Regions from separate parts of the Homo sapiens genome. Here regions 2, 3, 4, 5 and 6 are each linked to region 1. Evidence: promoter capture Hi-C in 16 types of primary human blood cells and fetal thymus (Javierre and others, 2016). All regions are on one chromosome and are shown on one strand. The core of a region is centred on a gene start or on the middle of the fragment in contact, and the rest is flanking DNA. Distances in the headings are between cores, read along the strand shown. Region 1 holds the start of KIN (Kin17 DNA and RNA binding protein). Region 2 overlaps GDI2 (GDP dissociation inhibitor 2). Region 3 overlaps FBH1 (F-box DNA helicase 1). Region 4 has its middle 43 kb from the start of LINC00709. Region 5 has its middle 23 kb from the start of LINC00709. Region 6 overlaps LOC101928272 (a long non-coding RNA gene).

Evidence for each region. Contacts are between HindIII fragments. The CHiCAGO score rates a contact against its expected background, and 5 or more counts as called.
Region 2: a contact is called between a fragment that was not itself captured here and the fragment with the promoter of KIN in region 1, in 1 of 17 cell types (monocytes). The highest score is 8.5, in monocytes.
Region 3: a contact is called between a fragment that was not itself captured here and the fragment with the promoter of KIN in region 1, in 1 of 17 cell types (neutrophils). The highest score is 8.8, in neutrophils.
Region 4: a contact is called between a fragment that was not itself captured here and the fragment with the promoter of KIN in region 1, in 1 of 17 cell types (M2 macrophages). The highest score is 5.3, in M2 macrophages.
Region 5: a contact is called between a fragment that was not itself captured here and the fragment with the promoter of KIN in region 1, in 14 of 17 cell types (M2 macrophages, M0 macrophages, total CD4 T cells and 11 more). The highest score is 16.8, in M2 macrophages.
Region 6: a fragment that was not itself captured here is called in contact with the fragment with the promoter of KIN in region 1 in 5 of 17 cell types (endothelial precursors, total CD8 T cells, fetal thymus and 2 more); the score reaches 10.4 in endothelial precursors.

The regions. Positions count from the first base shown.
Region 1 is chr10:7,785,787-7,790,553 of GRCh38, reverse strand. KIN (Kin17 DNA and RNA binding protein) reads left to right here and starts at 2,561. Exons shown (of 13, transcript NM_012311.4): 1 at 2,561-2,734. The coding sequence starts at 2,621. ATP5F1C (ATP synthase F1 subunit gamma) reads right to left here and starts at 2,377. Exons shown (of 10, transcript NM_001001973.3): 1 at 2,291-2,377. The coding sequence starts at 2,346. RefSeq lists enhancers at 1,293-1,836, 2,289-2,608. The HindIII fragment of the contact is 3,793 bases long and covers 1,395-4,767 here.
Region 2 is chr10:5,807,928-5,812,694 of GRCh38, reverse strand. The region is part of intron 1 of GDI2 (GDP dissociation inhibitor 2); the gene reads left to right. It overlaps LOC124902367 (a long non-coding RNA gene), which reads left to right. Exons shown (of 2, transcript XR_007062041.1): 1 at 1-380; 2 at 739-4,767. Among named protein-coding and RNA genes, the nearest start is that of GDI2, 3.1 kb to the left of the region's middle. The HindIII fragment of the contact is 3,008 bases long and covers 305-3,312 here.
Region 3 is chr10:5,890,998-5,895,764 of GRCh38, reverse strand. The region is part of intron 1 of FBH1 (F-box DNA helicase 1); the gene reads right to left. Among named protein-coding and RNA genes, the nearest start is that of FBH1, 3.1 kb to the right of the region's middle. The HindIII fragment of the contact is 3,459 bases long and covers 225-3,683 here.
Region 4 is chr10:9,316,452-9,321,218 of GRCh38, reverse strand. No RefSeq gene overlaps it. Among named protein-coding and RNA genes, the nearest start is that of LINC00709, 43 kb to the right of the region's middle. The HindIII fragment of the contact is 1,720 bases long and covers 1,668-3,387 here.
Region 5 is chr10:9,296,536-9,301,302 of GRCh38, reverse strand. No RefSeq gene overlaps it. Among named protein-coding and RNA genes, the nearest start is that of LINC00709, 23 kb to the right of the region's middle. The HindIII fragment of the contact is 2,003 bases long and covers 919-2,921 here.
Region 6 is chr10:9,210,094-9,214,860 of GRCh38, reverse strand. All of the region lies in intron 4 of LOC101928272 (a long non-coding RNA gene), which reads left to right. Among named protein-coding and RNA genes, the nearest start is that of LINC00709, 63 kb to the left of the region's middle. The HindIII fragment of the contact is 3,482 bases long and covers 681-4,162 here.

The DNA.
Region 1 (4,767 bases), core at 1,312-3,811:
AGTTTATGACTACTGACACGTTATTAAAAAACAGTTCCATTTTAGAGACTACTGAACTCTAAGAAATAGAAATGTTTTTCCCAAATTTGAAGACAGTAAAATCCGGGATTCTTTCTCTCAAATTTTTAATTTCCATTTTCTTATATGCTGCTTTAAAAAAAAGGTTTAATTTTCAAAACGTTAGAGTATTTTGCCGATACCCTAACAACTATTAAAATAACCACTGTGAATTTAAGTAAGCCTAATGTTTTTATGTTAGCATGGTAGCCTCTCTGAAAACAAAAACTAAAATAACAAATTGTACTTTAAAAAACTTCCAGTAATCAAGACAGAAGCATGGAAATATGCCTCTTCATGGTTCGTTAAGACAAAGGTCTTTTCTTCCCCTTCCAAATTAATTCTGTGGAGTGGTTTTAATTTCTGAATTCAAAAGGCAATTATAATTCATGGAAAGAGAAATGGCAGAAGAGGAAGGAAAGACATTAAGCACCAGCAGTGAAGGAATACATGAAAAGAAGAAGACAGAATATGCTTTCATAGTGGAACACTGTTGATTGATGATTTATAAAACCAATATTCCAAAGGGATTAAGGTCAGGATTAGGACCTTTATATGCTGATTGTGGTTCCGATTTAAGCTCCTAACAGTAGTTGTCTTGAACTGAGAGCTCTTATTTAAAACAATCCTTCACTAAAAGAGCTTCAAATTATCTTACAGGTGCTTTAAAAAAAGATATTTCTAAAATTTTTTGTAAAATATTGTCTTTGTTTCAGAAACTATTTCCACTTTTTTAAAGATCAACTTAGAAACTAAGGTTGTAAAAATACTGACAGATAACATTAATGCGTGGCAAGAAGGTAAGGCCAGGAGAGCTGATGTTCGCAGAGCACCACTGCATGCCAGGCACTGTCCCAGGAAACTGACTGAGACCTTATCTATTTGCTCACCATCACATTTGGGCACTTTCCAAGTACCACCGGGTGGAGTGGAAGCACTCAGCTAATGTCTGCTGAGTGGTTAACAAGTGGGACAATCTATACAACTGAGAATTCAACTACAGTGACCTTTTAATTCCCATGAATGTTCTTTTTCCATATTAGAGAAAAAAAAATCTGACTTCCAAGGCCAAGCCACCAAAAATTTTATGTGGCTAATTCACATCAGATATCATTCTGAAAATCTCGTATATTACTATCAGTTATTTGCTTAATGAAAAACCTATTTATTTCAACTAATGCTTTATGGTCCCTTCATATAAATTAGGATACGAAAATCTAGTTTAGCACTGTAGCGCCTTAGAAATCCTCCACACTGTTAAGAGCAGGGAATTGCTACGACACAGCCTAGAATCCCCTTAGCAGCGTGTCTGGAATTCTTCCAGATTCCGTCAAGCTTCAAAACTGAACAGCACCACCCACAAACCAACTTTTACCTGCCCATTCCCGGGCCTTCTAATATGCACTTCCCCCAGCCCAGGTCCCCCTACCCGGAACTAATGTTTAAAATTCTCGAGGCTCGTGGCACCCTTTAGTTGCATGTCAGTTAACAAATGCCACTTAAAAGCCCACCGAACTCCTCCCCCAGGACCTGGGGGCAATTTCATGACCTTGCAGGGTTACGGTTTCAGCAAGTGGTTTCAAGGTAGTGCTAGGTGTCCTTCCCTTCCCCGCCCTCAGACAGATCTGTACGGTCCCTTCTGCACCAAAACCACCCTCAGAGGCATCTAGGATGTTCGCCTTTGCTGTTGCAGCACCCAGCAAAGCGTCTGCAACACGGGAGGTGCTCGACGGCCGCGCTCTCTGACTCGATCGAATCTTAAAGGGTCACTCTGTCCAGCACTACAGGGTTTCAAAGGGCGTCAAGGACAAAAAGCACGACTTAACCTTCCCCTGGGCTATTGCTCAGGCTCCCGTCACCTTGCAGGCCCTGAGACTGGGGGCCTGGCTTGCAGTGGAAGTGGAAGCTCAGGAAGTGCTGATTAGCTGAGGGAACTCAAGACCGCCCAGACGTCAATTTGGACTCAGGCCGCAGTCCCGAGGTCCCAGGTGGCCCTCCGACCTCAGGGAACCGGGCGGGACCTTGCTCCGCCGGAGCCCGGCCCTGCGCACACCTTGCCCGACCTCAGAGCCGCTTCCTGCAGCCCCCGCTACCCGGCGCCTCCGACGGGCCAGGGGCCCAGCTAGGCCCTGCGACCCCACATCTGCCCCCGCGCCCATCTCCTCCTCCCTGCCCCGTGCCCAAGCTCTTCCATCCCTTGCGGTCCTGCCGATCTTCCCGCAAGCTGCCATACCATTGCGGCTGCAAGGTCCAGGCCGACAGCCCAGCGACACCCGCGCGAGAGAACATGGTAGCCACAGCCCTGCTGAAGGTCGGTCAGGCAGGCCTCAGCGCGCATGCGCCGAAGCTCCCCAGCGCGCCCCTCCCACCTTGCTCTCTTCTTCAGTCTCGTTTCTTCGCGCTACGGCGAGGGGAGTCTCGCGACCGTTGCAACCCAGTCTTCCCAGGCCCCACCTCCTTCCGCCTCTCAGCTGGGATTTGTCCCGCCCACCGCCGCCAGCCCGGTTCCGTTTCCGGCTGGCTGAGTACTGGGGTCCAGAAAGTGATCGCTGCCGTGGTCGCCATGGGGAAGTCGGATTTTCTTACTCCCAAGGCTATCGCCAACAGGATCAAGTCCAAGGGGCTGCAGAAGCTACGCTGGTATTGCCAGATGTGCCAGAAGCAGTGCCGGGACGAGGTGAGTGGGCCCGGAGTGGCCCCGTCTTCCCAGGAGGGCCCCTGGCAATCCAGGATCAGGTCCTGGACGCGGGGCTGAGGGCGCGGGGCTGGGGCTCCCGGGGTCCGGGTCGTGAGGCTTCTGAGGTCTGCAGTGGGCGAGTCAACTACTCAGCGCACGAGAGCCGTCCCTCCCCGCAGCCCCCGGGCCCAGCGGGCAGCCTGTGTTCTGCGACCCCTCATTCCTCCCCAGTCCGATCCCCACCACCAAAGAAATGAAATCAGAAAAGGTTTTGCACCCCTCACAGGGGCGGGGATACTGCAATACTAGACGCCCGGGCAATGCCAGTAACAGTCATCAGCTCTTACTTGACTTGACTCTTAAGAGAAACAGGGTGGTTAGGATTCACTCCTCTTTTGGGATCAGGTGAAAAAGGAGAGCTAAGCTCTTCCACACTACTCATCTAGCAAGCATTTATTGAGCACCTACACTGTACCGGGCACAGAATAATATTGTGGTTAAAATTATGGATTTATCTGGTTTATGGATATATCAGACTGTCAAAATTTAAAGTCAAGCAGGGCCACTTACCAACCGTGTGGTCTTGGGCAAGTTATTTACTTATATTCCCCTTTACTTATCTGTAAAGAGGGAATAATAATTTCACCTACTTGTAGGATTGTCGCTGAGTTTTAAATGAGTGAAGTATATATAGAGTGGCTCAAGGAGTCTGGGCAGATCTCGAAAAGCCTTATATGGCTACACTATGGAATTTACACTTTTCCCCATTAAAGAGGTGGTTGATTGAATGCTGTGCAGGCTAGTGATGTGATCATATTTTTCTCCGGAGATTGGACTGGATTGGGTAAGGGTGGAAGAACACTGAGGCAATTGGAATAATCTAATCCAGTGTTTCTGCAAGTGAAGGAAGAGGTATTTTAGGTAGGACTCATACTAATATTGATACAGTTACTCTCTTTAGTTCTATTAAGGAATACCTGTATATGCATTATCTAATGTCTTAGTCTGCTTGGACTGCCATATAAAGTGCAGTAGACTGGGTGGTTTAAATGACAGAAATTTATTTCTCACAGTTCTGGAGGCTGGGAAGTTCAAGATCAAGGTGCTGGCATGGTCAGATTCTAGTGAGGGTCCTCTTCTTGGTTTGCGAAACTGCCTCTATCCTCACAAAGCAGATAGAGCAAGCTCTAATAGAAACTTCTCTTCCTCTTTTTTTTTTTGAGATACGGTCCCACCCTGTTCATCATGCAGGCTCTACCCTTGTGACCTCATCTAAATCCAGTCATCTCCAAAGGCCCACCTTTTAATTCCATTCCCTTGGGGGTTAGGGTTCAATATATGAACTTTGAGGGGACGCAGACATGCAGTCTGTAACACCCAGACTTAACACTTTAAGTAATTTTGCCGTATTTACTTTTTAAAAAATATTTTAAGGTAAATACCAATATCAGGATATTTCACCTTTAAATACTTAAATAGGCATCTCTAAAATTTCAGGATACTTTTCTATATAACCATAGTATATGTCATCAACATAACACAATTAATAGAAGTTCCTCTTTATCATCTAATACACATTCACACTTCCTCAGTTGTCCTCCAACTGCTCCTTGAAATCAAGATTCGATCAAAAGCAATAGACTGTTATAGGTTTGGTTATTAGGACCTCCGCTCCCCTCTCCAGTCTCCCTCATCATCAACATCCTGCAACGAGGTGTTATATTTGTTACCATGGATGAAACTACATTGACACATCAGTATCATCCAGAATCCATAGTTTACATTAGGGTTCACTCTTGGTGTTGTACATCCTATGGGTTTTGACAAATGCATAATGATACGTATTCACCATTATAAAATCTCACAAAATAGTTTAACTGCCCAAAAAGTCCTCTGTGCTCTGAGTTATTAGGACTTTTAGTTTTCTCCAAATTTAATTTTCTCTATATTCTGAATTTAGAATATAACCCATTTTCCCTCCACCCCTTTTTCTTTTTTTTTTTTTTCTAGACAGAGTCTCACCTGTCTCACAG
Region 2 (4,767 bases), core at 559-3,058, 2.0 Mb after region 1:
TTGATTAACTTATATTTTTGGCGAAAACGTGGAAATTAGTCTTTTAATCCTTTCTCCCCCCTGCTAATGAGAAGTATTATTGAATCCTTTTAGCCACCCTCCCTTCTCACTTACTGAGCATCTGTAGAATTGGAATTGAGTTTTTTCAAAACTTGTCCGTCAAATGCTTTCGCACCTGACCTTCGCCGCCTTTTCCTTTTGTTTGGTGGGTTCTCTGCCTCCTTTGTCTCTTCTGGACTGTTTTCCCCTAAGAATTGGGTTGGTGATGGATTGCTAAAAGCCAAGTTCTCTGTACTCCGAAGCTTTCTTCAGGGAGTTGGAAGATAATAACATGAAGAATGCATTGTAATATATGAATGCAAGGTGTACCTAATATCATGGTATATTGATTTTCCTGGTTATCTGTTTCTAAGGGAACTTTAGGTAATCTGTAGATAACGCAGGCAGGTTCTGTAGTTTGTACTTTTTCTGTTCTTTTTTTTTTTTTTTTAAATGTTCATCTTGCAAAAGAATTCACTTTGGAGAAAACCATTTTAACTATCAATTTTTGGGGAAATTTGAAATTCTAACTTTGGGCTGCTTGATCATAATTAAGATGAATACTGATGTAAATCTTGTGTATCCTATGTACTCTGACTTCAAATTCCTGAGTCATTTAATGTAGACTTCCACTTCAAATTTTTTGAAATTTATTATAATCTCTCAGGGTCAAACCAATTTTTTTTTTTTTTTTTACAGGTAACATCCCAAAATAACACTTTTAGATGTCTCTAGGCAAGAGAAAACCTTCGAACTTTTATTTGGCTAATTTTTTAGGAAAGGTTTGTGAAGAATTAGAATCGTGTTTTTCTGGTCTGTCATTTTTCTGTTTATAGTTATATGCAATTATTAGAGAATATTCATTCTGAATACTTCGTTATGTTTGACCAATCCAGGAATAATCCTGTGTCTGTCTTTGAAAAGCTGGAAGACTGTTGGATGCCTAAATGAATAGGCCCTACCCACTGCAGGTTTTGTGCTTTTTTTTTTTTTTTTTTAAGTGCCTAATTGGGATTCCAAGCTGAGCTTAGTAGTTTGTGGTGGATTTTGCCTGTTGGAATGGGTAGTGTTGCTGCCAGCGTGTTTTAAGAGCCGGTTAGTTCCACCGTTTTTCTATGGTTGTTGCTGGTCTTTCAGATTTGCTCACAATTGAGGTCAGTTAAGCATGCACGAGTGAGTGCAAATCCACCATCATGCAGGCTTCCACAAGCCTCGTTCACATCACTTTGTATCAAAGATGGTGAAAGTGTTTTTATATAACAAGTTAAGATAATGAGCTTTGTTTAAATTTTCATTCGGATTGTGAACTCTTTGATGAATGGTAGATGCATACTTAACTAGAAATCAGACCTGTTTCTGCTGTCATTTTGTAGCTGTGATAACTTTAATCTCTGTGAGCCTTCCTAAGTTTTCTGAGATGTTCTTTGATAATTATATCAATTCAGGACAATCACATTATTACCATCATTGATAGGAGTAGTGATGACAGGATGATTTTGATAATGAGAAATCATATATCCTTATTTTTAGTGTTACCAGGAATTAGATGATTAAAAATTAGAAGAAGAGAAAACCAAAGTTAGCACTCAGAATTAACTTTTGAATGTCTGGAGTTAATTAATTTTCTTAAAATTTACTTTAGTGCCTGAGACTTAAGAACCTAAAAAAAGGCAAGTACTTTCAGTGTTAGGAACTTGTTACTTTTAAAGAAGTGTAAGGAAGTGCTGGAGTTGCTGTGTTGCTTAGTGCTGCCATTGTTTGTATGAGTTGTTAAGTCTAAGCTCATAATCACAAATATTGATAGTTATCTTAATCAAGAAGATACAAAACGATTTGGTATAAAGGAGTAAAATCTTCATTCTGTGTGTAAAAGAAATGGAATATTCCACACAATTGAATTTTCTGAGGAACTAAAGGTTATCTCTAAAGAGCACAGCTTTTGGATAATGCCTTTCTAAATGCTGTCACAACTTCTTTAACAAACTAAGAAACATAATTTACTTGATAACCAAGTTTTCACATAGTGAAGATTAACTATTGTGTTATGCTGTAACATGGTGAAGCCATGAAGACCCCGCCAGCTTTGTAGGAACTTTTGCCCCCTTTACTCTCAGGCTGCTATGCTTTTTGAGCTCTTCAGTTTACTCTTCATATTTTTTCCCTCTATCTTACTTTACTGTTAGGCTGGCAACATTTACTTTTCTCTGCTTTCAGCATGTGTAGGCAGCCTCTCACCACATAATTTGCACATAGTTCACTATGGACTTGGAAATAAATTCACGAGTCTTGTTAGACATAGTAGATTAAAACAATAAGAGTAACTAGTTCCACAGCTGTTTGTGCTTCCCAGAGGTTTTTTTCTTCCCATTTTTTGTTCTACACAGTAAGAATTTATGAATAGAAATATATACTTTAGTGATGTATACCAGATGATTCTCAGCATCATATGTTTAAAAACTTGCTTTACATCCCAGATACTTTTCCTCATTTCTCTTTATCAGAATTTTGTGATTTCAGATTCAGAGAAGGTTTTATACTTGATTTTAAAATTCTGAACTAAAATTCAGATTGCCTCTTGGATTTGCTTAATCTTTGATTTGCTCTTTGAGAGTTCTTGCTTATAGCTGTGTTAGAGTTCTGTAGACAAAGGACTTTCTATTCACTACAGTAGTGAGCATAGGATCAATATTTGCAAATGCTGTTACACTTGGGAGCTGTGTTGTAGGCAGTTTAAACCAGCGTTAAGCATCCTGGCCAAAAGAAAATATAAGTGAAATTAGACATATTTTAGCATGTAGAGATGACAATAGTGTGACATTGGTTTTTAAAGACCACTGGTAGATGTTCACATGCGTGATACACTGCAATTACCTCTGTCTTCCCTCCCATGGTACCTGATTGGAGACTCTTACTGGAGTAATAGTTTCAGTTTCAGTTATTTAAACCCAGTGACTATTGTGATCAGTTATGGGCAGTAAAAAGGTAAACACAGAACCTGTCTATAAGTAGCTTGTTCTCGTGTTGGAGAGTAACTAATAAGAATTAGTATGAGAAAGCATTAAGTCCCCTAAGAGGTGCACTTATATGAGTTCAGTCAGGGAATCAGGAAAACCTTCGTAAAGAAGGAGATATTTAGCTGGCTTTAAAAAAATATTGGCAAGGTTTGAATGGAGGAATGATTTTTTAGGCAGAGAGCAGTCAGTGTAAGTCAATGCTAAGTCAAGGATGTATGTAGGGAATGGGGAGTGGTTTGTTTTGCTTGAAACAGAAGCTTTGGAGAGAGATTCTAGGCTAAGAAATGTGAAAATTATCTTCAAGGCAGTGAGAGAGGACTTTGAGCAGGAGAGTGATATAATTAGCCACATTTCAAGAGAAGGTATCTTTTGACAGTTTTTTTTTTTGTTTTTTTTTGAGATGGAGTCTCACTCTGTTGCCCAGGCTGGAGTACAGTGATGTGATCTCGGCTCACCGCAACCTCTGCTTCCCAGGTTCAAGCAGTTCTCCTGTCTCAGCCTCCCGGGTAGCTGGGATTACAGGTGCCTGCCACCATGCCCAGCTAATATTTGTATTTTTAGTAGAGATGGGGTTTCACCATATTGATCAGGCTGGTCTCGAACTCCTAACCTCAGGTGATCCACCCGCCTAGGCCTCCCAAAGTGCTGGGATTATAGGCATGAGCCACCGCGCCTGGCTGACAGTTTTTAATGAGATGCATTAGAGGGGCAGAGTCATTTAAAGAAACATTCTTCATAAAACAGCCATTTTTATTATGTTGCTGTAAGATACTTGCCATTGAAATGAACTGATTTAAAATTTTTCTGGTTAATTTCTCATGTTTCTAGGTAAGTAGTTTTGAAAAGGCACTTTAATATTAGTTATTAGATACTTTGTACTCCTGATCACATTTGTGTGTGTGTGTGTGTGTGTGTATTTGTAGTTTTTTTTTTTTTTTTTTTTTAATAACAACAATACTTTTTATTTCTGAGACAGAGCTCTCTGTTACCCAGGCTGGAGTGCGGTGGTTCAATCTCAGCTCACTACAACCTCTGCCTCCCCGGTTCAAGTAATTCTCCTGCCTCAGGCTCCCAAGTGGTTGGAATTACAGGTGCTCACCACCACGCCCGGCTAATTTTTTTGTATGTTTAGTAGCGATGGGGTTTCACCATGTTGGCCAGGCTGGTTTTGAACTCCTGACCTCAGGTGATCTGCCTGCCTCAGCCTCCCAAAGTGCTGGGATTACAGGCGAGAGCCACCGCACCCAGCCCATAACAGAACTTTAAAATGCAGTAGGATTTGATAGGGTGTAGAGGATTTTTTGTTTGTTTGTTTTTGAGACAGGGTCTCGGTCTCTTACCCAGGCTGGAGTGCAGTTGTGTGATCACAGCTCACTGTAGCCTCAACCTTCCAGGCTCAAATGATCCTCCCACTTCAGCTTCCCAAGTTAGCTGGAACTACAGGAGGCATGTAGTTTGGGTATTTTTTGTAGAAATGGGGTTTTGCCATGTTGTCCAGGCTGGTCTCAAACTCCTGGGCTCAAGCAGTTCTTCTGCCTCGTCCTCCCAAAGTGTTAGGATTACAGGCGTGAGCCACCTTGCCCAGCCAGGGTATAGAGTTTAGTTTGTCACTAGGAAGGTATATCAAAATATTAATAAATTTTGGCTCTATTCCCTTCCAAGTCTAAATTGCTCTGTAATCGGGGTTGGGGAGTGGGCATTAATTTTTCAGCAT
Region 3 (4,767 bases), core at 705-3,204, 1.9 Mb after region 1:
CCCAGGACATCCTTAGAAGCCGGGTGTTCAAAATAGAAGAGCCTCCAGCAGCCTCAATCCTCGGACTACTGCTTTAAAAAGAACCCTCCCTCCCCACACCTACACACACAAACTCCAACCACCACCATGACCTGTAGCCTCCTTAGATTGTTATGGGATTGAAAAATAAACGTCTATTGTGAGGCCATTACATGTCTGGATCTATTTGTCACTGCAGCAAAGCTTACCCTAACCATTCAGGATCATTTGAAATGGATACCAAATAATTTCCTTTCTTCCTCTACCTTTACTAATCAGAATTCATACCAAAAAGTCCTTTAAAACTTTTAGGTTACAGACCTAAATGGACAAGATGAAGACAATAAGTACCTAGAATTCCTGGAAGTAAATATTATTATTAAATAATTGCTTTTTCAAAAAAAAATCAAGTTGACTCGCTAGTACAAGGTACCTGACTGGAGAAACTGCTACAATACCATACCCAACTTTAACAAAGATCCACAGAGGGCAGTTTTGCTAATCTGGACAATTTTGGAGTCAGCTAACCGCCCTGGTCAGTTTCCCACATGCCTCTTACTTTCAGCGTGCTCTGTGAAGACCAGCAAGTGGGCACTCGTCCTCTGGCATCTCCTGTGGAGATGGCCCAGGGGCCCTGCGCAATGTAGCCCATTATCACATGACTCAGGCACTTGACAGGTCCAATGGCAGCCTGTGAAACGGGAATGGCCCAATTTCAACAGTTAACTGTGTTATCTCTCAACTCCAGCACCATAAAAGTATTCACTCAAGCCAGGAAGCACTTCGCAGGAATAAAACCGCCCTGTACACCCGAGATACTTGTAACAATTCTTTGTGTAAGTGTGCATTTAACATGTGTCTTATATGAATTATTGTTTTTAATTGCACTGTATTACATATTATATTAATAACAATTATTTGTATAAGTCTGTATTTAATACGTCTTCCATCCCAGACTAAAAGCTCTCTGCTCTAGTGGGAAGGAGTAGAGAGGTACTCACACCCAGCATGTAACACACATTGCTTCATAAACAATTCCTGATTAAACGAACAAATGTGCAGCTGCAGCACTTCTTCTGAAGTGTGGGCTGTCTTCCTTGGCTTTGAAGCTCTCAACTCTCCCAGAGCTCCTAAGTGCTTTACAGCTTTTGCAGTTCTTTCCTATATTCTCGTCTGACCCTCAAAGCAATCCTACAATTGTGCCATGATTAAGCTGGGGCTCAGAGAGGACTTGCCTGAAGTCACCTCGTAGCTCATGAGTGATGGTGCCAACACAAGAACCCGGGTCTCCTGACTCCCCTAGTCCAGTGCACTTCCTACTGTGACATTCTTCACTCTGTATCTAGACACCTTGAAAGCAGCTTCTGAAAACCTCAAGTTTAATTTCCATATTACATTTTTTTAAAATCATTGTGAAATGTCAGAACCAAAGAAATTGAGAAGTATTTGGAAAACATAACTATAAGGAAAATACCACTAAATGCTGTAGACCCGAAATGGAAAAACTTCAAAATATTGTGTCCCCATTAGCTCTAAAAGAAACGAATGCAGAAAGCAAGCAAAATAGAGCTCCAGCTCCTTTCCCAGGTATTCACTGACGCAGAGCCAGGCTACCACAGCCTGCTTCTCCAGAAATCCAAAAGTTCCCAGGCAGTAAGCTCAATCTCCCCGGGATCCTCTCACATCTGAGACACCTGTGACTCCCTTGGAGACAGCACTCGTGTATGACAGCCAACAAGGATGGGCTGGGCTTTCCGTTCTATGTTTTTCCTAAAGAAAGAAAGGAATGTTTGAAAAACAAGAGAAAGATCACTACTTATGGTCTAGAATATAATTTTATATATTTGAAAGGCTTTTTCTACAGTCAATTCATTCCACAACTACTTTTACGTATCTGCTATGTCCCAGATTCATTTTAAACTCCATGAGAGCTTTGTCTTATGGTATCCTTGGTGTTAAATGCTATTTTAGACATTAGTGATACAAAAGTGAATAAGCCTACCCATAAGGCAGCTACCAAAACAAACACAAGTTACTAAAGATAAAGTAATATAACAACTACATAAATGCATGCATGAAGTGTTATGATAGTAAAGAAACATAAATAGAGTTAGGCAAGTTGAAAAAGGCTTCACGAAGAGTTGAGTCTTGAAAGAATCATGGGATTCAGTAAGGCGGAAGGAAACAATGTGTGCAAAAATACAGAGGCATTAACAATGCACTAGAGTGGCAGGAAAGCTGGGCTTCATCAAAACAAGAGGTTCCCTGATGAGGAATGACAGGAGATAAGGCTGGAAAAGGAATTTGGAGCCACAGACTACAAAGGTCCTTACACATAATGATAAAGAAATTGGGCTTCAAAAAAAGAAATTGGACTTTATCAGGTAGGGGCTTCAAGGTATCATCCAATTTTGTTTGTTTGTTTGTTTTTTGTTTTCAGACAGAGTCTCACTCTGTCTGTGGTCCAGGCTGGGGTACAATGGCACAGTCTCGGCTCATTGCAACCTCCGCCTCCCAGGTTCAAGTGATTCTCCTGCCTCAGTCTTCCGAGTAGCTGGGACTACAGGTGCACACCGCCACAGCCAGCTAATTTTTTGTATTTTAGTAGAGATAGGATTTCACCGTGTTGCCCAGGCTGGTCTAGAACTCCTGAGCTCAGGCAATACACCTGCCTCGGCCTCCCAAAGTGGTAGGATTACAGGCGTCAGCCACCGCGCCCGGCCTCATCCAATTTTTAAAGCAGGGTCATTACACAATCAAATTTACACTTTAGGACAGTGACTCGGGAGAGAGGATAGAAGGTGGAGAGACATGGAGATTGTCAGGAAAACAACTCAGAAAGCCACCATATCAACCTATGTGAGAATTGGCAAAGGCCTGAGAGTAGCAGACCCTGCAGGTGCATAAGAACATGGCTTTGTTTGACAAGACAGAAAGATAAAAGATAAAGAGCAACAAGGATAACTGGCATTTCTAGTAGAACATTCAAAGAGATGTTAATGTCATTAACCATGTTAAGGAATAAAAGAGAAACAGTGTTTGTGTTTTAATCACTTTTTCCCCCGGAGTGAGAGGGAGGCTGAAAGTCCTAGTTTTAAAAATAATTTCTGGCTTTAAGTTATCTGTGGAATACCATGTTTATGCTCCAGGAGGTCCTCTGAAATCTGAGACTGGTCTTCAAAAGGCATGTGAATGACAGTTACAGATATAAGATTTGAGATGCTTTCTAAAAGTAGGTAATTTCACAGCCAGAAAGGCAAAGATGGAATCCAAATTCAGTTTCCAAATAAAATCAGCCTAGGAGGGATAGAGGAATGAGATAAGCAGCAAAAAGATGATGTCAACAAACCCAAAATTAGAATTCTAAATCTAATACCAATAGTGGTGTCTACACACACTCACAAATCACGAAACCTGTCAAATGATCAGTGTACCAATGGGCATGCTCAACAGCATACCCATGAAAAACAGGAGGAAAAGGAAGGGCAGCCAAGGAGCAAGTCGGTGCCAATGACGACTACATGTGACGTGACTGTAAAGGCCAGACCACAACCTCCAAAAGTCTGCACGAAAGAAATGAGCAGCCCAACCGGAAAACAGCAAGACCCAGGAAACAGCTCCATCCATTAGCTTACTGTTCAGATCCCGCCCCTCTAGACCAAGCTTTTGCCCAGAAAATCACAGGAGCTGCGGGACAGATTCACATACATTATCATTTAGTTATCCAAAGGGGGATACAGAGCAAAGAAGGTTCATAGAGAAGACACAAGAGGCAGAATCGAATGTGCAACACCAATGAAGTAACCAATTATCCTGGGTTCAAATATTCCAACCTGGCTAGGCACGGTGGCTCACGCCTGTAATCCCAGCATTTGGGAGGCCGAGCTGGGTGAATTACTTGAGGCCAGGAGTTTAAAGACCAGCCTGGCCAACATGGTGAAACCCCGTCTCTACTAAAAATACAAAAAAATTAGCCGAGCATGGTGGCACACGCCTGTAATCCCAGCTACTCGGGAGGCTGAGGCAGGAGAATTGCTTGAACCCGGGAGGGGGAGGTTGCAGTGAGCCGAGATCGTGCCACTGCACTCCACCCGGAGCAACAGAGCGAGACTCTGTCTCAAAATATATATATATATTCCAACCTACTGTGAACCCGTGTGTCCCAATTATGTTTAAAAAACAGGGAAACTAGAGACATAATGCAAGAGAAGATAGTCATCTGAAACTGGGAGAGGGGCAGGGGTAAAAGCAAAAAGCATGAAGCTACCAGATGCCTCAACTTCCAATTTGCACTAACTTCAACGGCAGCAGAACACTGCTTGGCACGCCCTACACTTTTGTGCATTTCAAACAACTTTTATGCCTTCCTTTTTTTCTTTTGCTGGAGTGACAAGGCACGACAGAACAATAACCTGAGCAAAGCTGGTACTTGGACTAGTTCTGTCTCCAGAGGCTATCCACATCACTGTTACCTTAACCAAACTCAATCTGCTCATGAGTAAAACGGACTTATCTTCATGGGCCCATTCCAGAAGTCTTTTCATTTATCTCCGCTCATTTTACCACAGCGGCAGACGCTGGCGGACACTCAACACATGCTACCATCCTGCCTTCCAGAAGACTTTATTACCTGTAATTCTGTAAGAAAGTCACTGACTTGGTTAGGCCTCCACTTCCCCACCTGTAAAACCCTACTGATGCCTCATAGGGTTGTCTTCGGACCACAGACTGCAATAAAAAATGTAAACG
Region 4 (4,767 bases), core at 1,278-3,777, 1.5 Mb before region 1:
TAATAGCTTGCTTTCTAAGTGACCGAAATCATATATTCTCCAAAGTGCAAAGGGACTTCATTTACAAAATCTTCTAAGTAACTCTTTGCTTTTATTCCATGGGTTCCTGAGCTGAATCATCATCACAAGCATACTTGCTCACAAAGAAGAAAGAAGGAAAGAAGGAAAGAAAAAAGAAAGAAAGAAAGAAAGAAAGAGAAAGAAAGAGAGAGAGGGAGAGAGAGAAAGAAAGAAAGAAAGAAACAAGGAAGGAAGGAAAGAAAGAAAGAAAAAGACAGAGAGAGAAAGAGAGAGAGAAAGAGAGAAAGAAAGAGAGAAAGAAAGAAAGAGAAAAAGAAAGAAAGAAAAAGAAAAAGAAAGAGAGAGTGAGGGAGGGAGGGAGGAAGGGTCCTGTAGTTGCTCTATTTTCTGAGAAATATAGAGAAATGAGGAAATGTACGGGAAATTTTGTGATATTAAGGAACTGTCAGATTATTACCTTTGGGGAATGCTGCTTAATAAGCACATATAACTGCTATCCTATAACAAGCCAACTGTCTTCTTATTTCTTAATAGGATTTCTCTCTGACTTGACAGATGTCTCTGTTGGAATGCAGTGAACAAGGTATACCCAAACACTCCAGTAATACTATTTTTGTTCTCTTGATTATATTCAAGAAGAGATTATATTCTTCCTAATAGAAAAAAAGTGTTTCAGCTGACTACTGTCTGAATATGTCATGTAAAACAAGAAGTCAATGATTATGGGAAGAAAAATATGTCTTCTGTATAAAGCTTTGTTCTTAATGCGAAAAGTCTCTCTCTTTTTATTGAAGAAAGAATAGGACAATAGAACCATCATAGTGTAGATTTCAGATAACTCATCTATTATACTAACTTTCACACAAGGGCATTGTCACACATTCTGAAATACATATTCCACTTCCTCTCCGTGACACACACATAGCCTCTCCCCAGAATGCTTCTGTTCTTAGTCTTTGCCTTGGATTCCACAATGTATCCAAGTTTCCAATATTCTACTTTCAGAACTGTAGCCCTGACTTGCCATCTGGTTCTGGGCTATTATCCATCCATCCCACATTCTGGTCGGGAAAGTGTTTTTGATGTACTCTCATGGGCGCAGGTCTACTCTGAGCATTGATGGTGCGCACAATCGTGTCCCCTGAGGGTCATCCTTCCATCAAGTTGAGTGGTGTTTCTGACTCCAGACCCCCACTTTCATCTGTCCCCACATGCAAGACATCACCTAGCAACATCATTGTTACTTGTAGTTAGCTGGTTTATGTTATTTACATAACAATTCTTTTTGATTCAAAGCCTATTTTGAAGAATGCATTATTTTACTTAGTATGTTTTTTTACACGTATTAAATCTACTTATACACAGATTATTTATGTTTAAACACATAACGTGCTCACGAATTTTGTCAGCTGTGATGTTTTCCTCCATTTATTACCCTGAATTTCTGCATTTCTTCTGGGTTCCAAATTCTCCATTAAAGTTGATCTTAAACTGTATATTTACTAACTCCCTTAGACTAAGCTTTTGATGTAATTTGTTACTGTTTTATGCTGATGTTCACCCTTCTTAATTAAAAATCCAATCTTAGCCAGGCCATAAATATTTAGTGCACTATTAAACAGAATACCTCATTTAAAAAAAAAGCTTTATTGAGTAAAATGTACATGCCATAAACTTTGATCATTATAAATGTACAATCAGTGATTTTTAGTAACCATATAGTGTTGTAGCAATATAACCAAAATCCACTTTTATTATTATTAGAAACCAAGATCTTGCTGACTGATATGCATATTGCTACAGGGTGTCATTGCCTTTAGGCCCCCTAAGCTCACTGAGTAAGTTAATGTATGTGTGTATTTTAATCAGTAGATAGATTAACTATAGATATAGTTATAAATTATTACAGATATAGATAACTAGTTTTCAGCTTATCTGAATCCACTCAAATACCACTATACTGCTTCATGTATAGTACAGTACCTTAGAGGACTCCTAATTTTTCCCTATCATCACTTGTGGTATGTATCTCACACACACACACACACATCCTATGTGTATTATATATATGATGAATATACACATGTATGTGCACATATATTATATATGTGTGTCTATATATGATATATATAGTATATGTGCATGTATGTGTGTATGTATATATTCATTGCTTCTGCTCTTTGTTTCAGCTTCATAACTTTGTTGTTTAAAATCTCATATATGATAACCAATTATTGTCATTATATCTTTCTATTAATAAGATGTTTTGTTAAAATTTCCCACTTGTTGGTGATTTTGTCAATTCTTCCTTGAATTTCTGTCAATTTTAAGTATAGTTATTTGGAGGGTCTCTTAAGAGGTGCATATATTTAGAATAGTTATTTGGTCCTGGAGAACTGATCTTTATTTCAAATTTAGTGACACTTTGTAGCCCTAATAATTATTTTTGATACAAAGTCTATTTTGAAGAATGCATTCTTTTACTTAGTGTATTTCTTTGGCTTGGCAGGGTCTTAAAAATAGCATTTAGTTGAAATTTTAATATCTTTTATTGATATGTAATTTACACAACATAGAGTTTGCTTATTTAAAGTGTACAGTTTAATGATTTTTTATATATATTAGGAGTTTTGCAACCAACTCGATAATATAATTTTAGAACATTTTTTTCATCCCACAAAGAGGCCTAGTTGTCAGCGGCCATTCCTCATTGCCACCACCCTTCTCAAGCTCCTGGTAACAGCAAATCCACTGTCTTTCTTTATAGATTTCCCTATTCCGGACACTTCATATAAATGAAATCATACAGGCTGGGTGTGGTGGCTCACGCCTTAATCCCAACACTTTGGGAGGCCAAGGGGGACGAATTACCTGAGGTCAGGACTTCAAGACCTGGCCCATATGGTGAAACCCCATCTCTACTAAAAATACAAAAATTAGCTGGGCGTGGTGGTGGGCGTTTGTAATCCCAGCTACTTGGGAGGCTGAGGCAGGACAATCGCTTGACCCCGGGAGGCAGAGGTTGCAGTGAGCCAAGATCGCGCCACTACACTCCAGCCTGGGTGACAGAGTGAGACTCCTTCTCAAAAATAATTAAAAAAAAAGAAATCATACAATATTCTGCGGGGTTTTGTAGCCAACTTCTCTCATTTAACACGTTTTTTGTGGTTCATCTTTGTCATAACAGGTGTCATTATTTCATTCCTTTTTGTTGCTAAATAATATTCTATCGTATTTTAATTTTTAAATCCAACTTAAATATTGATTACTATAATTAGCTAGTTTATGCTGTTTCCAGGTGTTAAAATTACTTATATATTTATCCTACCATCTTCTTTTTTTCTATTTTTCCTGTTTTCTCAAGCTTCCTATTTTTTCTTCTCTTTACTTTCTCATGGATTGGATTTTTTTAGTCCATTTATTCTCTCCACTGTTTTGAAGTTATACATGCTACATCTTTTATATTTGAATTTCCCTTAAGTTGTAGCATGTACATTTGTATTAAATGTAATATTACTCATTATCTCTATAATTTTTCAGAAAACTTCAGGAGATTAAACCTTTGTAAAGCCAGTTGCTTCCTTCTAAGTTATATATTATTTAAAAAAATTTAGGTTCTACTTTGTGTTAATTCGTCCATATTTATTCACTTCAAATTAGAAAACATTATTAATGCATAATCAATATTTATTATAGTTTACTTAACTATTTACTATTATCTTTTTTTTTTTAATCATTCCAACTAACATATCAGACTCTTGTTCTGGGATTATTTTCTGCCTTGCCAAATATTCTTTTGAAGTTCCTTTCATGAAGTCCTGTTGATCAGAAAATTTTATTTTTTGTTTAAAATGTTTTTGCCATGACCCTTTTCTTGAATAATAGTTTAGGTAGTTCCCCAATCTATGTTGAAAAAATCTTTTCTTCAGCAATTTAAAAATTACTATTCCTTTGCTTGGTGCAGTTTTATTCAATTCCTACTGAGTAGCACGCCTGTTCTAGATGTTGGGGGTACCAGAGGAGGTAAAATTGCTGAAGTTCATGACTTCTTTCTAGAGTGTTGGGGAAGACAAATAAGACAAATACATAGCTAAAACACAGAGGTCATTAATATCAAAAACAAAAACAAGGTAGCTGTAGATATCTTATGGGATTCATTTTATGTGTCACCCCAGATCTACACACTTGCTATGACTCTGGTTAATGTTATCTTCAAAAGTTTATGTGGTTCTCATGGTCATGGGAGCAGGTCAATGACTATACCTGCAGTAGACCAAGGCTGCCAAGGACCCATATTGCCATTCACAGGCAGACTCAACAGCGTTTGCCTCACCCATGCCATGTGTCACTCTCCTCTTACTTTGACACCCACCGGGTAACCATGCCTGTGTAACCCACACATACAGGGAAGTTAAAATCTTACAGTGCAAAATTTGAGCAATGAGAAGTAAAACCTTGGAGATAAACCTCCCCTTCCTCCCTTCACCCCAGACAGGAGATTCACAGGAGTAGTTTTAGATGGTGTTTCTGAAGATGTCCTGCAACTTCAAGCAGTTGGCTTATTACAAAGAGGTGGCTAGCTCTGTAACATATTCCCATCCATTCTCCTCCTCACACTCCTGCTTCTCTGGAATGGCACAACTCATAAAGTCTTGGCATAAGTGACCTCTGATTCTATTTTGTTAGGACACCTGGAAGAATCATATGGGAACTCACTAATGATGATGTGTTCAGCCATGAATTGAG
Region 5 (4,767 bases), core at 671-3,170, 1.5 Mb before region 1:
AGTCACATTTATCATTCAATATTTCCCTGAATTTGGAGTTCCTGAAGGTAAGGCATTTTCATATTCTTATTATCTTTTCTATGCCTATTAGTTTCAACTGAGCCTAATTATATTTTTCAATGAATATATAAATTTAAAAAGAACACAGATTTTGTTTTTTAGTTTGATATGCCCTCATAGTTTCTCACTTTCTTTGAGATGATTCTTCTATTAATGTTAAGATTTTGGGCATGGTGGCTCACATCTGTAATTTCGGCTCACACAGTGGCTCACATCTCCCCAGCACTATAGGAGGCCAAGGTGGGAGGATCACTTGAGGCCAGGAGTTCGAGGCTGCAATGAGTTATGAATGCACCTCTGCACTCCAGCCTGAGCAACAGAGTGAGGCCCTGTCTCTAAATTTTATGTGTATATATAATTTCCGCATTAGAGAGAAGGAGTAAAATTAACAAATAACCTCTTCACATTCTGTACAAGTGAAATTTGTTGTTTGGCTTACTGCTGATCTCAACAATAGCGTCACCATAAAGATGAATGAATTTCTCCATTGTTTCAAGCCCTCTCTGCTGTTCACACTCTTTTGGCCTCACAGATTATGTCCGGTAGTTTCTCTTGGCTGAATGCTAGGAAATATGGCAGAAGCGATGAACTAGGTAGGTACAAGAGAACCTAGGTTCAAATACATGCCCTTCCACTTCTTAGCTGAGTAACTTGCGGAATATTGCATATTGTCTCTTGACCTCAATCTTAAATGTTATAAAATTAAAATAATATAGATTCATCTCAGAAGTTTCATTAAGACGGTGTTTTATTATCTCTACTTGATAGCCGGCATGACAGAGTTGGGTTAAATTTCTAGGAACAATCATTTCAGTCTTCCCAACAATTTCAGACTCCCAAATCCAGCCTGGAGAAGCTTTACCCACTGAACCACTGAAAGTGGCTTTTACCAACAGGATGTTTTTGCTCCTCAATAGGGGACAAAGATGGAACTGCATGAGAAGCTGGAAGGAATTCATTTGCTGGACCTAACTCACTCAACCAGATGGAAAGTTGGGCATTAGCACAGTGCCCTGGAGCATGTGTTGGGCATGCAGTTTGTTGCCTCATTGGCCCCAAGTCTTCCTCCTACATGCTTCTGCACATACTGGCTTCATTGTTTCATTGTTCTACCCCACGGGCAATCAGAACATCTTTAGTCAATGTGCTTCCAGGCTAACAGAAGGCAGCAATGTTTTGTATCTGGCTTTTACCAAGCGTCCATCTTTAGTACTGAGTAGGACTTGCATGGAGGCAGTGGATGCATGCTTGTGTTTATCTCAGCCTTTAGCATCAGTCTGGATACAGGTAATATCAGTGGAAAATAGTGGCATCTCTTGCTCACATACACTCAAAGAACTTGGACAGCAACAAACACCGACTTCTGCATTTCTTTAAGTTCCCAAAACTCTTTGGCATAGTTTTCACGTGATTTTTCAGATTTTTTTTGTTTGTTTTTTTGTTTTTGAGACAGAGTTTCACTCTTGTCTCCCAGGCTGGAGTGCAATGGCACGATATCGGCTCACTGCAACCTCCGCCTCCTGGGCTCAAGCGATTATCCTGCCTCAGCCTCCTGAGTAGCTGGGATTACAGGCACCTGCCACCATGCCCGGCTAGTTTTTGTATTTTTAGTAGAGACAGGGTTTCACCTGTCTCTAATAAAGTCATGAACTCCTGACCTTAGGTGATCCGCCCTCCTCGGCCTCCCAAAGTGCTGGGATTACAGGCGTGAGCCGCCGCGCCCAGCCTGATCTTTCAGATCTTGTCATCATCTTATTATCTGAACTTGCTTCAGACATTAGATCAAAATGAATCTTGTGCTACTGCATGGATGACGTGGACAGACGGAACTTTTAGGAAATCATCAGCTGACCAAATCTCACCAATTGATTGTGGGTAAAAGTACGCACAGAGGGACATTTTCTATGTTACCAGATTTTCTTGGCTTGAAGCAGTGAAGGCTCCTCTGTACAGTAAACCTGACTTCTCTTTAGTACTATAGCTTCTCTGGTCCTTCTGATCTCTGCTTACCTAATAGATCTCATTCACCTCTACATCTCTGCTCTACTACTGCTTACTCAGGTGTGTCCAGTAGGTAGGCCACTGATGAATTTGCAGGGTACAAAAAGAGCTTAATGGATGGCTTAAAATATGGCTGTAACTCAAATCATCATGAAAAGGGATGGAGATGTATTTTGTAAACACTGCTGTGCATCAATAATAGTCAATCCAAAAGATATACCGCAAAAAATCTACTTAAGAGACCATGAGTGAGCACGTTATTTGTGAGGAATAATTAACCCTGCGTAGAATCTAAATATAACTTTGCAATATGAGAATATCATAACTTCTTTAGTATATTGCAGCCAAATATTGAGTTGAAGAAATATATTTTAATTGTTAAAGATCACTGTCAGGGACAGTATTTTCTGTCTTACTTGTATCGAATTGTGTTAACATGTAATTTATGGCCAGCCTGGGTTTAATGCAGTAATTTGGATTCACAGTACTAATTTTCATTCATCACAATTCACTTCTTCATTTGTTGGGCTAATGATCCACAAACTAAAAAAAATAATAATAATAATAGAAGAAGAAAAAAAATGTGTGAGGCTGCAGTATCAGGTATCAGAGAAAGAATCGTTTTCCCCCATTATGACTGTTCAAGGCAATGTTTACTCATCTGCTTGGAGGATTGGTCTCTAGGAACCCCTTGTTTTATTCTTTTCTATGTCTGTTTACAAGTGACAGATTCTACCTATGGTATTTTTTATTTGTTTGATGAATGAAATAAAAACCATTGAATTAATTTGCTTGGATAAAGGAGCCCAGGGGTATAATAGGCAAATGTTTCATGTTATTCAGAACTCAAAACAAAAGCTTTATTTTCAGAAATATTTGAGTCTTTATAAAAAGAAAGAATAGAATTACATATAGACACATACACATAAATATATATGTATCTGATTTGCTCAATAGATACATTTAAATTCAGACATAAATAATTATCTAGAAATTATCTGGTATGTATTATTGCTTAAATACAAATCAAATTTCCTTTAAAATAATAACATTACACCTTGGGTTTGTGATAAGTGATCGTCAACCTACTTGCTTACCTCTAGTCCCCAACTCGGGGTAGTTTTTATAATGTCACACAGAGATCATCAATCAAGTTTTTGCTTTTAATTTCCCATGATTATTATTAGTATTATTTTTGGTTGATAGGAGATTTTACTCATCTAAGGATTGCAGGAGCCAGTCCTTTAACAGTTAGAGATGAAATGAGAATCAATTTTGGCCAATAAACAGTGAACGGTGACTCAAGGCATCAGGTTAGAGTTAAATTCAGGGTACTGTAAAATAGTAACCTCATTGAGGATCAAAGTCATGCTTTTTTATCCAGCGCTTCTTTGTGACAAACACATTATGTCAGCTCCACTAGCTCATTTGTCTGCGGCAGTTCCACTTTATCAGGCTGGAGTAAAAAGAATTGATGTGTCTGGATAGATAAAGTAAATGGAAACTCAGGACTCATTCCAATATGCTGTACTTTGATATATTTTGCAAACCTGAGAGCAGCTGGTGTAACACTAGTTACTGTTTGTATTTAAATATTGTACATTAGAAGACCTTTGAAAAGGTGTTTTATAATGTTTCTCTTTTTTTATTTTTTAGCACCTATTGGCTTTCAATTGTTCTTTTTTCTTTTATTTTCTTATTCATAAATATTTTCAGAGCCTGCTCTTTCAGAAACTTTTGTCTCATTTCCAAGTCAGACAAAGCAAGTTAAGATACTTTACAAAGTGCTAATTGAAATATAATTTTAAATTAGAGTGGTTATTTGCCTTTGCCTTATGTCTTCATTCTTTATAAAATTAAACTGGGGCTTTTTTGATTTGGTAAGATTTATTTCCCACCATTTTCTGTTTTCAAACTTTTGTCCTTTCTGGTTATTATTCAACATAACAAATGTATCTTCTTGAATGTTAGATCAAGGCAATATGAAAGTATTTTTATTTTAAATTATGTTTTGAATAAAATAAATGATCTATATCAAAATAAAAATCTTAAACATATAACATGTTTTCATATGTAGATTAATAGAACAAAAAAGCTACCAAAATTACAAATAATAGAACCATAATATATCTCAAATTATTAGACCAAAACAAGTTTTAACATGTAGATACTGACACTAAAATTACTGGTGTTTTTAGAGGTTTAGGTTGCAGACAGCCTTTAGATAATGGTTCAAGGAGAGTAGAAGAGAAAGAATCACTTTTGAATGATGAAAATGAATTCATGAAAATTATACCCATACTTTGTCCTTTCTTTCCTTTAAAACTTCTTTACATACTCAAATGAATTATTGAGAACATTAGTTAGATCACCGAAACCCAAAATGTTCCTGTTTATTTGCATACTTGAATTAATGTATTTTTTCTTCCATTTGGATTTATCTCAATAAATGCTCTTTCATTCTGTACTCTTGCACATATTGAAAATTTTGATTTCAAATTTAGGGCAAGAGTATAATCGTAAAACCTTTCAATAAAGTTGAAATGGTACCAGATATTATGCATATTAAATACATGAGTAGAGAGAGGTGGGAGAAGAAGCCATTGTGATAGGGAGGTATCAGGGTGAATGACTAAAATGACCCACAGATCTTTCTTTTACCAATACATTTAGGAGGAACTCAATCAGCTACTGATGACTCCACTG
Region 6 (4,767 bases), core at 1,172-3,671, 1.4 Mb before region 1:
GGGAGTTCCACATCCTGCCTGCTCGCGCATCCTCTTGGCCAGCACTGAGTCACTTGGCCTCACCTGCCTGCCAGCGAGTCTGGGAAACGTGGTCTATAACTGGGTTGCCTTATGCCCTGAAAGTAGTAATATCTACTGTTACAGCCTATAGGAAAGGGTGAGTGTATAATTTAGCTCTCTCTTCCATGTGCTGTACCGACTGGGTTTCCAAAATCTGAAAATCTGAAATGCTCCAAAATCCAAAACCTCTTGAGCATGGACATGATACTCCAGAGAAATGCTCACACTGGAGCATTTTGGATTTCGGATTTTCAGATCTGAGAGCTCAACTGGTAAATATATTGCAGATATTCCAAAATCCAAACATTTCAAAATCTGAAACTCTTCTGGTCCCAAGCATTTTGAATAAGGGGAACTGAACCTGTATTCATAATGAATACAACAAACAACCACAAATAATCCTGGCATTTAGAATGAATGCACAGTGCAATTTGCTTTTGTAATGTGGTGGTACCACCTCAGAGATTCAGAACAAAATTAACTGATGGCATTTTTAAAACATTAGGTGAGGGGAGTATGGCAGTTACCAATCTATTGCCTCTTGGCTCCAAGGAAACCTGTATTGTCCTGCTTGTGGCTTCTCATCCTTTCTCCTTGGACAGTTGGCATGCCATTAAGCTTCGTTGGCAGAAGGCACTCGTGGGAACCTAGGAGAGGAATGGGTTCTTCCTCTTGGGTCCAGCCTGTGCTCACTCTCAGTAGGCTCCTGCAGTGTGTGGCAGCTGGTGGTGTGGCGGGAACCTAGCAGAGGAATGGGTTCATCATCCTGGGCCAGCCTGTGCTCGCTCTCAGTAGGCTCCTGCAGTGTGTGGCAGCTGGTGGTGCAGGACATTCCCTGACACCAAGAGGGAGGTTTCCCAATGTGCCATTTCCGGTAACAAATTCCAAGTGGGACTTGTGTGGGCATCTCTCCATTAGTGACGTCCCTCTGACACTCAAGAGGGCAGTTTCTCAGTGACTACTGCTGGCATGGCACCTCAGCAACTCCGCATCCCCAGGGCCACTGCCATGCCCTCTCCAGTGAGGTCTGGATCTCAGCCCTGGAGGGGCAGGGTCCTTTTCCAGATTTTTTCTTACCTTGGGTGTGTTCTCTCAGCGTTTGGAATAGAATCTGCTATTCTATATTCTTTAGAATTACCTATACTTCTTGGTATCCCAAGCTATGATTCCAATCCTCTGTTACAGTTAAAAAAATTGTATTTTACACATTCTCTATTGAATTTACTGGATAGAATCTGTTTCCTGATTGAAGCCTGTCTGATACCATTAGGGAAGTCGGTCATATTAAGATAGCCATAAGGGTGCCACCATTTCCTATGTAAGATACAGGCACTTATGGCATCTTCCTGTGTCATTTTTGAGGTCTATTGCTCATGTTAAAGCTCAGGTATCCTGAGGATTTTGCTCTAGTAAATGTCATACAAATCGAGGAATACAGAAATTAATTGCTTCTGTATTAAAACGTTGCTTGTTTGAAAGTACTGAGAATTCATGGGAAGAGAATTAGTGTGGGTGTTTTAAAAAATTAAATCACTGTTATGCTTTGATATTTTCCATTCTTTATCAACATCAGATAAAAAGCAAGCCTTTGGAGTTCCTCCAAAAATTAAGTTTCTTCTCCTACACTACACACTCTATGCTTTTAGGGAAGAATATTCACATTACATATAAGGAAAATGCCTCGTTTTGATAGGAAATTACAGTTTCTGGATTAGTGACATATTGTTTGAGATAGTCTTATTAGCTGCCCTGCATCCCTAGCCCAGATGATGTTTTCAAACACTGTAGCTCTAGAAATCAAGTTATATATGCAACAAAATTTTGCCAACTGCCCTTTTAATTAGGGTGTAATGCCAAAAAATATTATGATATTATTTTCCTTTTTCCAAACTAGCATCTGGCCTAAGAGAATGACAGCAGAGAGATAAATTTCTTGAAGTCAGGTATATACAGTAGGGAAAGTATTTTCTTCTATTCATAGTTACCATTATTCTTATTTATTACCTGTTCACATTCAGTAAATTTAGCAGAATTATTATTTATAGATTGTAAAAGATTTTTTTAAAACATAATTTTGTCAAAAATATATATATTTAAAACTAGAAGTAATCTATTTTGGTTTTAGCAGCAACTTTTGCTTTGTATATTTTTGTCACTGTGAAACATTTTTTACTTTGATTCAGTTTCATACATTTTTAAAACTACCATCTAAATGCGATTTTGGAAATCTTGTAAGTGTGTTGTAAAGGAGGAGGACAGAATGTTTCGCTTTTAATGAGGCCTGTTTTCATACTGGATTGCATCCATTGATATTCTTATTTTTCCATATTTTGCATCAACTGTCCATTGAGGTTTTTAATGGTTTACTTTACTTTTTCTATTTAGATCAAATTTACAAGCATAAAACATTACATAAATTTAGGTAAATCTCCTAACTTCATCAAAACTATATATAGATATTTGATGGCCAAATTCTGTGGACTTTGGCATTGGAGGGTAGCGGTATGTGGAGTCAATGGATGGGAATGGTGGCATCTTTATGACTTAATTTCCCAGTATAAAGTCTTTCTTTTTAAATAGTTAAACATCATAACACATTGCCCAGGTATTAGGTTCTTATAAATGCACCATTGTATTCTGGCTTTTTCTCCTACAGCCAATCTTAAACTATCTCTTCAAGCTCAGTGTAAAATATAGACAGGTAAAGGGGAAGATCTTGGTATGGAATCCTAGGAAGCTGCTTCAAGTTGAAATACAAAGTGAGACTTATACAACAGCTTTTCTACCAGTAATTAAAAAGCCTAATGTCTTTGGAGTATTATTAAGTTGACTGATTTTTGTACAGGACTCCACATTATCTTCATTTAATAACTTTCCAAGAAGTATTTGCAGAGGGAATAACAGTAGTCCATATTTAAGTGTGCAGTAGCCCCCCCTTTATCCACGGGGGCTACGTTTCATGGACCCCAGTGGATGCCCAAAACAACGTTGAACCCTATATATACCACGTTTTTTCTATACATACATACTTACGATAAAGTTTAATTTATTAATTAGGCACAGCAAGAGATTAACAACAATATCTAATAATAAAATAGAACAAATATAACAATATACTTTAATAAAAATTAGGTGAATAAAAGTTCTCTCTCTCAAAATACCTTGTTATACTATATTCACCCTTCTTTCTGTGATCTGTCAATCTGATAACCTAGAGGACTACCAAGTGACCAGGAGCGTACTAGACTATCTCCTAGATGCAGATTTTCAGGATACCAAGCCTTACAACAGTTTTCAATGGGAAGGGTATGAAAATGGCTTATTTCCACGGTTAAAATTTAAGGCAACTGCACTGCAAAATTCCAACCTATAGTTGTCAGCACTGAGTATATGACAATAATTCCTAGCAAGGGACAACTGAGATCCAGTGCCATGCTCTCTCTTAACAAGTCTTCCCATTCTTTCTTACTTTGTATTGTCACTTTGGGTCTTTTGCATGTCCAATGACAAAGCCATCACAAAACTCTCAAAAACTGATCCTATAATGACAGCAGTGTTTCACTTTATAAACTCAAGTACTCCAAACAGTAATTGAGATCAGAACAGAAATATGAACGGTACGTGTGCATTTTAAAATAATATTAGTAACAAAATGATTAATTTATTAAATGAACTAACCATATTGCCACACAAAGACAGCCCAGTATGCAGGCTCAAGGCCTGAAGAGTGGAATATAAACACATGTACTCCAAACAAGAAGAAAGTGGGCACTGGATAGCACTTCTAAGAATACTTAATTGTGTGCATATTTTTTTGTTGTTGTAATTTGGATGAATTCCAACTTTTCTGAAAGAAAACATTTGCTTACATATTAAGAAAATATATAGCAGAAAAACAGAAAGGTAACAAATACCAATTTTTTTCTTTTTAAAGAAAATATTTAAATTATTTTAATGGGTGAATATACATGAAAATGATCCATTCAGTTCACTCTGCTTAATAAAAGTTATTTCAAATAAAAAAGTCATTGTAAGTCAGGGTGTTACTATTTACATATCTTATCCATATTGTCTTTATATGTTTCTTCTTTATGTTGAAGCTTGTTAGCAGTTTATGGTTTGTTAAAAATGGCTGATGCCACTAAGCTCAAAGTAAATGAACATTTATGTGCCAAAGGCCCCCTATAGACTGGTTAGTACGTATGCCAAGGAAACAAATCTCAGATAACTGGATTTTCATTTTAGCTTTGTGGATTACCTTGAATGCGTTATATATTTGTATTAACATAAGAAAATATAAATAATGTCTTTCACGTAACAAAATAATTCTATGTCTTAGGTGAAATAACTCCACTCATATTTTCCCCTGCCAAATAAAAAGTGCTGAGCACAATCTTTCATGTAAGATCTCATTTCTCCTTTTAAACTTCTCCTATGAATGAAAACCAAATGGCAACGCAGCATTGAAAACCAATGCCTACAAAAAGTACACAGAGTTTGTAACATTAAAAAAAAGCAGGAGCTAATGACACATAACAGGTAAATAAAGGGGGAGGGGACCCCTGAACTTATACCAGGCGTCCAGGATAACCCTCTTGAAGTCTATTAGAAACATGCATTCATCAGTACAGCTCTTTGAAGGGCTTGGAAGATGTGAGGTTTGAAGGAAAAACAAAATGCTATTTTTTTTAAAAAATAAAAAGTGCT